2 separate regions of the Homo sapiens genome follow, and region 1 is linked to region 2. The links are contacts of gene promoters, found by promoter capture Hi-C in human tissues and cell types (Jung and others, 2019). All regions are on one chromosome and are shown on one strand. The core of a region is centred on a gene start or on the middle of the fragment in contact, and the rest is flanking DNA. Distances in the headings are between cores, read along the strand shown. Region 1 overlaps GLP2R (glucagon like peptide 2 receptor). Region 2 holds the start of RCVRN (recoverin).

Region 1 (5,357 bases), core at 2,843-5,342, 35 kb before region 2:
TAATCTCTCTATCCCCTACCCTCCACCCCCCTGCAATTAAAATAAGTCAACAGGCATGCCTAGAAGGGAATATTTCACAATCACCCTCAGCTCTTAGAGAGGACATTGCTTAACTATTGTTGTCTGTGTCTACAGGCACTTGGACTAGAGGAAACGGGCTTGAAGAGAAATGGGAGCATTCCCTTTGGTCACAAGGAAGACATTTAACCATGAACTTGTAAAACACTGACATATACCCCAGAGAAAGGCATTAGATCTTCATGTCTATCAGTTTACAAGAAGATAATCTGTCCTGAACAATAAGGAGCTAAACCTGCTGCCCTCCCAATCTGCACAGCTCTAGGATTCTAGGACTCTGTGCATTGGTTCTAGGGCTCCCCAGAGAGTGGAATTTATGTGTCCCACCAGACATGGAAGGGAAAAGAAAGGCCATGCAGAAAGAAGTGAAAGAGGCAGGCTAGGAGTCAGGAGCCTGGGCTCTATGACTGACTTGTGATGTGTCCTTCAGCCAGGTGAGTTGGCCTCTCTGGGCCTCTGTTTCTTCATCTATGAAATCAGTCTTGAACTAGACCAGTGGTTTTCAACCAGAGGAGATTCTGACCCCTGGGGACATTTGGCTGTGTCTGGAGACATTTTTAATTGTCATAAATTGGGGATGGGGATAGGAGGAGAATGTTGCTACTGGCATCTAGTGGGTGGAGGTCAGGGATGCTGCTCAACACCCTACAACACACAGAACCACCCCCAGAATAAATAATTATCCTGCCCCAAATATTAAGAGTGCCAACATTGAAAAACCCTGGACTAGACAGTAGCTGCACATTAAAACAACCTGGGGAGGATTAAAAAAATACCCAGCCCAGACTTACCCAGACTGATGGAATCAAATCTCCTGCCATGTAGAGCTTCCTTAGCACTGGAATCTCATTCAGCCACTCTCTTGTATCTTCCTTTAGCATTCATTGAGCACCTTCACTGGGCTTGGCTTGGTGCTAGGTTATTTCAGAGTTTCTATCCTCAGGGAATTCAGAATTTAATAGTTATCATTCTGAGACTCATCAGACTATGACTGAACCAATATCTGCCTTCATTTTTGGTCATATGACCACATGTTGCAATTTTCCACTGATCTGAATAGACATAACCCCAACTCTAAAAGAGAATTCCTTAAACCACAACGTGGAAGGAACCTGGATTCCTGAATGACTGTATGGAGCAGAACTCCCTCCACTGCACTAGACTGTGACATAACCAATAAAATAAAATAAGATAAAATAAATCTTTATTGTGTTAAGAAAAAAATAATAATTCTTTGGCCCCCACATATGTTCTACTTAAACTGAAGTAAGAAAGAGTAACAATAATCAAGACTGAGCTAGTAGCACTTGGCATTTCTAGGTACTTAACAATTTTCTTTCAACTTGGTCAAATTTGAGCCTGGGCCCAATTTTGGGGAACATGGATCAGAGGCTTCTGAGGAAAAGCCAACTGTGCATGGTGAACCAAGCACTGGGACCAAGGAGAGTGTCCCATCCCAGGTTCCGGCTCCCTGGTGAATATCCCTAGTTATCACAGTTGGATCTCTCCCACCATCCCCTAGACTGGGTCTGCATTTGCTGACCAGCATCTGGGTTGATGCGAGTGTACAACATGCTGGAAATCCAGATGCGTCAGCAAACTTCATTTACTGCTTTGTTGGTACAAGGTTGCCTGTGTTTCAGAAATGACCATAATGTGGCAACCTGAAGAATCCAGATGCCCTTTGGGTCTCTTGCCAGGCAGAAATTGTAGAATTCCCACCTCTTTCTTTGTATAAGACTTCACTACTTCACCTGTCATCTGAAATGTACATTTAGAGTTGAATCATCTCGGAAACTGGCATATTCTTACAGCCTAGTCTCCCCAGCCCTCAGTAGAATATTGGTAAAGTCTTGATTAGTCCTGCTCAAGGACAGCCTTAGACAATAATTACATCATGCAAGGTCATTCTATCCATACCCTGCACCCTGCAGTTAACAGACCCGGTGAAATGGCTGTTTTGAGCTAACAAATTGAATGAACCATCTGTTGACTTTATGAAATCATAAAGTCAAAAGCCTGCATTTGCTATTGTTGAATCTTCCGTGATAGCCTCAGAACTTGGCAAAGTTGATGCACTGGTAAAATTTGTCTTCACTGGCCTTGTCCCTCTTTAGGTCCTCTGCCCCACCAGGAACCCAGGGGCTTTCTGTGGCTTCAGGCTTCCCAAGACATTTCCTCACTCCTGTGCTCTCCTCTTCTAAAGACTTAAAGTGTGACTCTCCCTGTACTCTGGGTTTTCCCACCCCATCAAAACTTAGCTTTGCTACACCCCATCTTCTGCTTTAAATGGTGATAATAAGCCAGAGCCTAGGTAACTTACTGAAGTCTTCATTGTTGCAAAAATGAATGAATGAATGAAAGGAGAAAGGGCTTCCTTCCTCCTCTCCCAGTGATTCCTTAGCTTCAGTGGGTTGTGTGCCTTTCAGCAGGGCTCTTGGGGAAAGAGTGTTTTGACTCACAAGAGTAGCTCTACAGGATTAGCATTTTAGTCCACACAGCAGGCCAGAGGAGGAGGGGTTTGGCGGTAGATGGAAGAGTTTAGGGGTAGATGAGGCCTACCCCTGAGCTCCCGCTATACCGGCAATCACCTCTGCCAACTTGTAGGCCCAGATCTGTGCACAGAAGCTGGGGTAACAAGAAAGTGTCACCAAGAATGTCACATCTGAGAATGCATCTGGGATAGATCCTTATATATTTGGGGTCCTTAGCACCCACCCCCATCTGGTCACAAAATCCTGGAGGAGTTGGCTGGGTTCTTGGAAAATGTCCTCACTCAGCCCCTTTCCTGCTTGTGTGAAAATGAAGAACAGCACCATCCAAAAGTACCTGCTGACTCTTGTCTTCTTGGAAGCCCAGATGAGCAGAGGCTTCATGGTACCCCCAGCTAGGGTTTCATCCTGTGGCAGTGAGGAAGTGCCTCCTTCGTACGTTCTATGGGTTGATGCCCATTTTCTCATGTCTGGTCTCTGGAAGACACAGAGAACAGTGAATCAACATGCTTCCCATTATAACCTTTCATTGCCTAGGAGACAGTCCTGATTGAAATTAATTTGCTGAAATAAATGCCTTTCTGCTGTTAAGCTTGCTTTGTAAGAAAAATGCCTATGTTCAATAAATCACTAAGCCAAGGACACAACGTTTTCTCTTTATGATGAGAGGCAGATATCCCATTAAAAGAAATACATTACTTGATTACATTTACCTTGTATTTAAACTTTCTGTTCCTAAATATTCTTTGGCTAGGAACCTCCATCATTCCTGCTGGCTTCAGGCCCTCACATCCAGTCAATAACAAAGATCATTTGACTCATACTTCTTCATCATTTCAAATTGATCCCTTCCTCTCCATCATGGAAGCACCAGAACTGCTGCTGATTTCTTTTCTCCATCACCGTCCCCCAGGAACTCTGAAACTACTTCCCAACTGATCTCCCCTCCTCCAGCCTTACCCTCACCCAATCCATTCTCCACACTGCTGCTGAAATTATCTTTCTGAAATGCAGAAGTACAAATCTGATCAGGTCACTTGCGTGCTTAAAATCTATCACTGGCTCTTCATTGCTTTCAGAAGAAAACCCAAACTCCTTACCTACCACGGCTGTGAAAGACCCTGCAGAAACGGACCCCCCTCTCCTGCCCAGTCTCACTTCTCACAAACCCTGTTCTCATTCTCCAAGCTCTACCCAAACCCAGCCACCTGCTTTTCACCACTTCCAGGGGGCTCTTGATCTCTCCCGAGGCTGCAGCCAAGACGGCAGCCAGGGCCGCAGCCATCTGAAGGCTTGGCTGGGGCTGGAGGATCAGCTCCCAAGGTGGCGCACACACGTAGCTGGTGGTGGGTGGTGCTGGTTTTGGGCCTGAGAACTCAGTTACCCCACGTGGATCTCCCAACAGGCTGCTTGAGTGTCTTCACAAAATGGTGGCTGACTTCCCCTGGAGTGAGAAACCTAAGAGAGAGAGAGAGAGAAAGAGAGAGCTGGGTGGAAGCCAGCCATCCTTTTGAGGACCTAGCCCAGAAGTCACATAGCACCACTTCTATGACACCATATTCTTTTCGTTAAGTGCAAGTAACTAAATCTAGCTCACCTCACAAGGGGAATAAGGGGGATTAGCCTCCACTTTTGAAGGCAGAAGGGCCAAGGAATTTGCAGGCATATTTTTAAATTTCTTTAAAGGCTGACAATGGAGGGCTGGATTTTCCCAGTCCATGACAGTCGTGGAATGTATTCTAGGGAGTAGAGAGCATATTCTGTCTATGAATTCCATAGCAGCAACAGGATCTCAAGTTAGACACCAATAGGGATGGAGTTCTTTACAGAAGAGAGGCAGAATAGCGTTCTGTTTAAGTGAAGGGAGGGTTATAATCCCATGAATCTGGGTTTAATTACAGGCTTAATCACTGACTAGCCATGCAACCTGGGAATTACACTTACTTCTCTGTGCCTGTTTTCTCATTGTTTTATGAGGATAAAAATAGTTGTGGCTACCTTAAGGGGATGTTGTAAAAACTAGATACAAGAATGCCTGGACCATTCTTAGCCCAAAGCCTGACATGGTGCTAAGTACTAAGTGATAAGTACTCAATACGTGGTAGTTAATAATAATAACAATAATAGTAATAATAATAATGTGAACGTCCACCTGCCTTTCTAGATGGCCTTAATGATGGGCCTCCTTAAGGCAGAATAATAAACTAAATCACTTTCTGAAATTCCTTCCAGACTTTCAGTTCAGATGACCTTTGGGACTTTGGAGATTCAGATGGCCTTTGGGACAGTGGAGATTCAGATGGCCTTTAGGACAGTGGAGATCACAGCTAAGCATTTACTACCTGGCCAGCTAACTGCTGAATTGCCCCTGGTTTACATTGAACTGATGGAACTGATGGCCGAGCCCAGCCTGACCTTGAAGTTCACAGCTATGTGGAATTCGTCACTTACTTACCCAATTCTGCTCTTTTTTTCAAGGTCAATTTCTTCATCTTCCTGAAAATTCTCAAGCTTCTCATTTCTAAGCTCAAAGCTCATCAAATGTGCTTCAGAGATTATAAATACAGGTGAGTGGCTTAAGGTTGGTCCCCAGCAGTCCAAGGTTATTGTAAGTACTCTGGCTGTTCTGCCCGCTGTCTTGGGAAGGACATTTATCTCCTAAGGCCAGGGTATCAGAAAGAGCAGTTCTGGGAAGGTGCTATAGGATCAAGTGAGGCTTTTGTCAATGGTGAGGACCTTCTATGACGATGAAGCAAATGGTGAGTAGTCAAGGGCATTCACATCCCC
Region 2 (5,838 bases), core at 2,292-4,791:
GAGTGCCTGCCCACCCCACTTCCAACACGGAGGGACAGACCTCCAGAGCCTCAGGAAAGACTGCAAAAATAATCAAATCCTCACCCTGGGCCCAGGAAGGTTATATGGTTTTCCCACAGCAACACTGCTAGTTGGAGTCAGAGCTGGGACTAGAACCCTTCACTTTTAACTCCCTCAGTCAGTGCTCTGCCCATGAACTTGTAATCTGGTGAATAGCAGAGCCTTCTGCCACCTTGCACAGCCCCAGCCATTGATGGAGTCTCCCTCCCTCCCTTTCCTTTCTTCTTTCTTCCTTTCTCTCCTCCTTTCCTTCTCCTCCCTCCCTTCCTTCTCTCCTTCCCCTTGCTTCCCCCTCTTTCCTTCCTGACTCCTACCTTCCCTCTCTCCCTCCCTCATTTCCCCCTCCTCCCTTTCCTCCTCCTTTTATTCAATGAGTATCAATTTGTAGGCTTCTGCTGGGCCCTGCATTGTTTATGCCACTCTGAAGACTTAGTCCCTGTCCCAGGCCACCCAGAGACCCCACAGCCAATCCGAGGGAGCTTTCTCTGCAGGCTGTGCCAAGATAACAATGAGAGAGACACATGCCTGCCAGAATGGGAGGCCCGAGCTGAGCATTGAGGATAAGCCCATGGACCACAAGCTGCATGCTCTGCTGTTTTATTTATGATTTCTCCTAATAACTGTGGAAGATTTTTGTGCATTTGTCATCATGCAAATGAAAGCATGATTGCCAATGCACACAAAGTTATTAACATCTAAACAATAGTCTCTACTAACAGGAATGGAATTAGAAGAATAAGGTAAGTGGCAGGGGCAGGGGGACTGAAAAAGAATAAATTAAAAAAAAATCAAATGAAGGAAATTAGAACTGGTATAATAGGAAAGAAATGGAAACAACCTAATGTCCAAAAACATAGGAATGTTCAATAATTTCCACATTTCCATAAGCCAGAATTCCAAGCAGCTATTAAAAGAGTTTTGGAAGAGGTTGGGTGCGGAAGCTCACGCCTGTAATCCCAGCACTTTGGGAGGCCGAGGCGGGCAGATCACCTGAGGTCAGGAGTTCGAGACCAGCCTGGCCAACATGGTGAAACCCCGTCTCTACTAAAATACAAAAATTAGCTGGGCAGGTGCCTGTAATCCCAGCTACTCGTGAGGCTGAGGCAGGAGAATTGCTCAAACCCAGGAGGGGGAGGTTGCAGTGAGCTGAGATCACGCCACTGCACTCCAGCCTGGGCGACAAGAGCAAAACTCTGTCTGAAGAAAAAAAAAAAGTGTTTTGGAAGAATATGTAATGATATGGAAAGCACTCATGATAAAAGAGTAACTGAAAAATGTATGATAAAAAATCGTATGTGAATATGTCATAGCTTTAACATTATTTAAAATTATATAGGTAAAAGACTGAAAAGGTATATACTGATATACTAAGAAAAGTTTTCCCTGGATGTTGGAATTAGAGGCAATTGTTAGTCTCTTTTGCCTAGGTTTCTAAATTTCATGAGTTACTTTTATATCAGATAAACCATTTTCAAGACACCTACGAGGTTAGTGGAAAAGTAATTATGGTTTTTGCCATTACTTTCACAACAAAGGATCTGACAGGAGGACAGTATGGACAGGGGAGAAGGCGTGTTGGGAACCATATGGAAGCCTGTGCGCCTCACAGGGAAACTGTCAGGAGCCGGGGAGCCACGCCGCGCGTGGGAAGCGGGGGCTCATGCGTGGTGCCATGATCCGCCCCGCGCTGGGGAGAACATGAGGACTAGAACTCAGAGTTCATGCCCCCAACTTTGACCTCTTTCTACTTTATATTAGAAGCATATTGTGTGTTTAGAATGAACAGTGATTCAACTTGAATGTGTACTGCTGAAAATTTCAAAGGACATTTTAATAAAGGAAGGAAGAAACAAAGGATGGAGAGAAAGAAAAAATGTAAATATAGTCACGTGTCGCTCAGAGACAGGAATACATTCCGAGAAACACATCTTAAGGCAACTTCTATGTGGGAACATCATAGAGCATCCTTGCACGAACACAGATGGTAGAGCCGACTACATCCCTGAGCTCCATGGTCCAGCCTTTTGCTCCTAGGCTACAAACCTGTGCAGCACGTGACTGTCCTGAATGTTGCAGGCAGTTGTCACACGATGGTAAGTATTTGTGCATCTAAACATAGCTAAACATAGAAATCATGCAGTAAAAATACAGTATAAAGATAAAAAATGGGCCGGGCACAGTGGCTCATGCCTGTAAATCCCAGCACTTTGGGAGGCTGAGGCTGGCGGATCGCTGGAGGTCGGGAGTTTGAGACCAGCCTGACCAACATGGTGAAACCCCGTCTCTACTAAAAATACAAAAATTAGCTAGGCATAGTGGTGCACACCTGTAATCCCAGCTACTCGGGAGGCTGAGACAGGAGAATTGCTTGAACTCGGGAGGCAGAGGTTGCAGTGAGCCAAGATCGCACTATTGCACTCCAGCTCTGGGCTACAGAGTGAGACTCCATCTCAAAAAAATAAAAAATAAAAAACCAAGATACAAAATGGTAGACCTGTCTAGGGCACTCACCATGAGTGGAGCTTGCAGGACTGGGAGTTGCTCTGGGTGAGTCAGTGAGTGAGTAGTGAGTGAATGTGAAGAACTAGGACATTACCGTACACAACTACAGACTTTACGGATACACTTAGGCTACACTAAATGCATTTGAAAAATAAAGTAACTGTGCTATGACGTCACTAGGCAGTAGGAATTTTTCAGCTCCATTACAATCTTATGGGACCACAGTGGTCTATATCGTCCGTTGTTGACCCAAACATCGTGAAGCCAAGCATAACATGGCTGTATTAGGAAACACTCAGATTCTGCTCCGGGAAGACAACGAAGCTGTGGGCAAGTGCCCACCCCTCTATCAATATCAGCATCTCGGAGCACCACGCTCTCAGAGCCAGTGGCCCGCATCCCCCGCTCCACCCACAGATCCACTCCCTCTGCAGCAGCTGCAGCAGGGGACCCCCAGCCCGGAGCGACCCCGGCACCGCCCAGCCAGAAGGGGAGAGGGGAGACTGACCATGACGATCTCCAGCACTTCATTCTTGCTGATGGTCCCGTTACCGTCCACGTCGTAGAGGGAGAAGGCCCACTCCAGCTTCTGGTTGGTCTTGCCCGCGGTGGTCATGTGCAGGGCGATGACGTACTCCTTGAAGTCCAGGGTGCCGTCGAGGTTGGAATCGAAGCTGCGGAACACATGCTGGGCGTAGGCCTTGGGGTCGGTGTCGGGGAAGAACTTGGCGTAGATGCTCTGGAACTGCTGCTGGGTGATGCGGCCGGTGGGACAGTCCTTCAGGAAGGACTGGTACCAGGAGCACAGCTCCTCCTCCGAGAACTTGGTGTTCAGCTGCAGCTCCTCCAGGATCTCCTTGGACAGGGCCCCACTTTTGCTGTTCCCCATGAGTGAGGAAGAGTGGGCAGCGGCTGGGGAGTCGCTGGGTGGGTGGGACGTGCGTGGTCCCCTGGCCGCAGGCTGGGCTCAAGGCTGGTGTGAGCTGAAGACCGAGATGCTGGTGGCTTAGGAGGATTTGCGACCAGTTCTTCGCAATCCTTGAAGGGAGGAGGGGCCCAGGAGCTTTGTGGAGGGCGGGAGCGGTGGGGGGGGGTGCTCCCAGAACCCTAGTGAGATTAAAATAAAGAGCCCAGGGCAGGCAGGCAATTCATCTCGGCCTCCCGGGACGATACTAGAACAGGACAGGAGGTTGGAACCCTCAGAGCTGGGGCCTCCGGCACCCCCAGCCCCAGCCCTCTAACAGCAGCCATGTTCCCTGTTTCTCTTCCTCACTAACTCTGAGCATCTCGGGGCGGGGCTGGCATCTCATATCAAGCCCTAGAATGCAATGGTTAGGAGCACAGACTCTGGGGCCAGCATGGGTTCAAGTCCCAGCTTGGCTACTTAACTAGCTGTGTGGCCCCAGGCTTGTTTCTTCACCTCTTTCCACCTGGGACACTCTTCTAAACCTTCACTGCAGTCATGTCTCTGCTTAAATGTCACCTGCTCAGCCAGGCCTATACTGACCCTCTATCTATAATAGCACAACCCCCACCATCATCGGCACGCTGCATGTCCCCTCACCGGAATGAAAGCTCCGTGAAGGATGGGATTTTGTCTGTGTTGTTCCCGGATGCATTTCCATTGCCAGAACCTGATAGGCTTGGGCCCCCAGCAAGTCTTTCTTGAATAAATGGGCATCATAGCATCTACCACACTGTCATTGTGAGGCTGATGTGAGTCAATATGTCTGACACACTTAGAAACTGGCACATGGCTAATGCTAAACACTCGTTTTGTTATTGTCCATCAGTCACAGGGAGTGAAGGTGAACTGCCTGAAGGGACCAGCAGGGGGCAGCCAGGCCTGTGTCACCTCGGGAAGGGGCTGCCAGAGAACGTGGTCACATGGGATGGTGAGATTTTTGGGTTTTTTTAAATTATTCAAGAGAAATCCAAAAATCAGAATTTTTCTTGCAATTTCCACACTTTTCAACTTTGGCAATTAATTCAAAATTTTAATGGTGGCTCACGTCTGTAATCCCAGCACTTTGGGAGACTGAGTGGGGAGATTACAAGGTTAGGAGTTCGAGACCAGCCTGGCCAACATGGTGAAACCCTGTCTCTACTAAAAATACAAAAAATTAGCCGGGCATGGTGGCAGGTGACTGTAATCCCAGCTACTTGGGAGGCTGAGGCTGGAGAATCGCTTGAACCCGGGAGGCAGAGGTTGCAGTGAGCCGAGATTGCACCATTGCACTCCAGCCTGGGTGACAAGTGTGAGACTCCATCTCAAAAAAACAAAACAAAAACAAAAACAAAAACAAAACAAAACATGGTGTGGGCCAAACACAATCTATCTGTGGGTCCATGGCAGGCTGCAGGGTGTCCGTCTGCAGTGGACTTGGAGTGAGCAGGCAAGAAAACGTGTTTGCTGAGTGAATGGATAAATAACTGAGTGGTCAGAGACGGAGCTGTGCAAAGGCAGGCTTCGCGTCTGTGCAGCTCAGCGGGGAGTATCAAGCACGAGGAAGCAACCTAGTGAGGACGCTGCACACCTGGATTCTTGTCACCCAGAAGGAAGGGAGGGTGGGCGTGCACTTTCCTTAGCGGAGCGCAGTGCTCGAGGGGACACACTCAGAACCCCAGCCTTGCCACCGTGGATGGAGAGTTGTCTCTTTTTGCCCTGGGGTGAGAATGATGAAGAATAAACCCCACGGTCTCCAGGCAGGTAAACTGGTTTTTTTTTAGACGGAGTCTCCCTCTGTCACTTAGGCTGGGCACGATCTTGGCTCACTGCAACCTCCGCCTCCTGGTTTCAAGCAATTCTCCTGTCTCAGTCCCCTGAGAAGCTGGGACTACAGGTGTCTGCCACCACGCCCAGCTAATTTTTTTTTGGTATTTTTAGTAGAGTCGAGGTTTCACCATATTGGTCAGGCTGGTCTCGTAAACTCCTGACCTCAGGTGATCCGCCCGCCTTGCATCTCAAAGTGTAAAGTGGGGATTTTAGCCTACTTACTAACAGGCTAGTGGCAGCAGAAGGTAGGTCCCTGCTGCTGGGAGAAAGCCACCTGCCAGGCCCACCTCATGTCACTCTGGAAGGACCGAGAGGTTCAGGCACCAAGGGGCAGACTCATCCCTCCCAGCCGCTCTGCCCAGTACAGTTTCAGAGATTTCTCAGGAAACCTGCATATTGGGGTGTGTGTGTGAACTTTCTAATTTTTTTCCATCACTTTGTGAGTTTTTTTTTTTTTGTTTGTTTGTTTTTTTTGTTTTTTTTTTTTTAAGACAGAGCCT

What was found. Contacts are between HindIII fragments. The study calls those that stand out against the background at their distance.
Region 1: a contact is called between a fragment that was not itself captured here and the fragment with the promoter of RCVRN in region 2, in 4 of the 25 tissues and cell types used here (aorta, dorsolateral prefrontal cortex, pancreas and 1 more).

The regions. Positions count from the first base shown.
Region 1 is chr17:9,865,699-9,871,055 of GRCh38, forward strand. It overlaps GLP2R (glucagon like peptide 2 receptor), which reads left to right. Exons shown (of 13, transcript NM_004246.3): 10 at 5,049-5,137. Among named protein-coding and RNA genes, the nearest start is that of RCVRN, 37 kb to the right of the region's middle. The HindIII fragment of the contact is 5,557 bases long and covers 1,315-5,357 here.
Region 2 is chr17:9,901,730-9,907,567 of GRCh38, forward strand. It overlaps RCVRN (recoverin), which reads right to left and starts at 3,542. Exons shown (of 3, transcript NM_002903.3): 1 at 3,071-3,542. The coding sequence starts at 3,451. The HindIII fragment of the contact is 14,018 bases long and covers 1-5,838 here.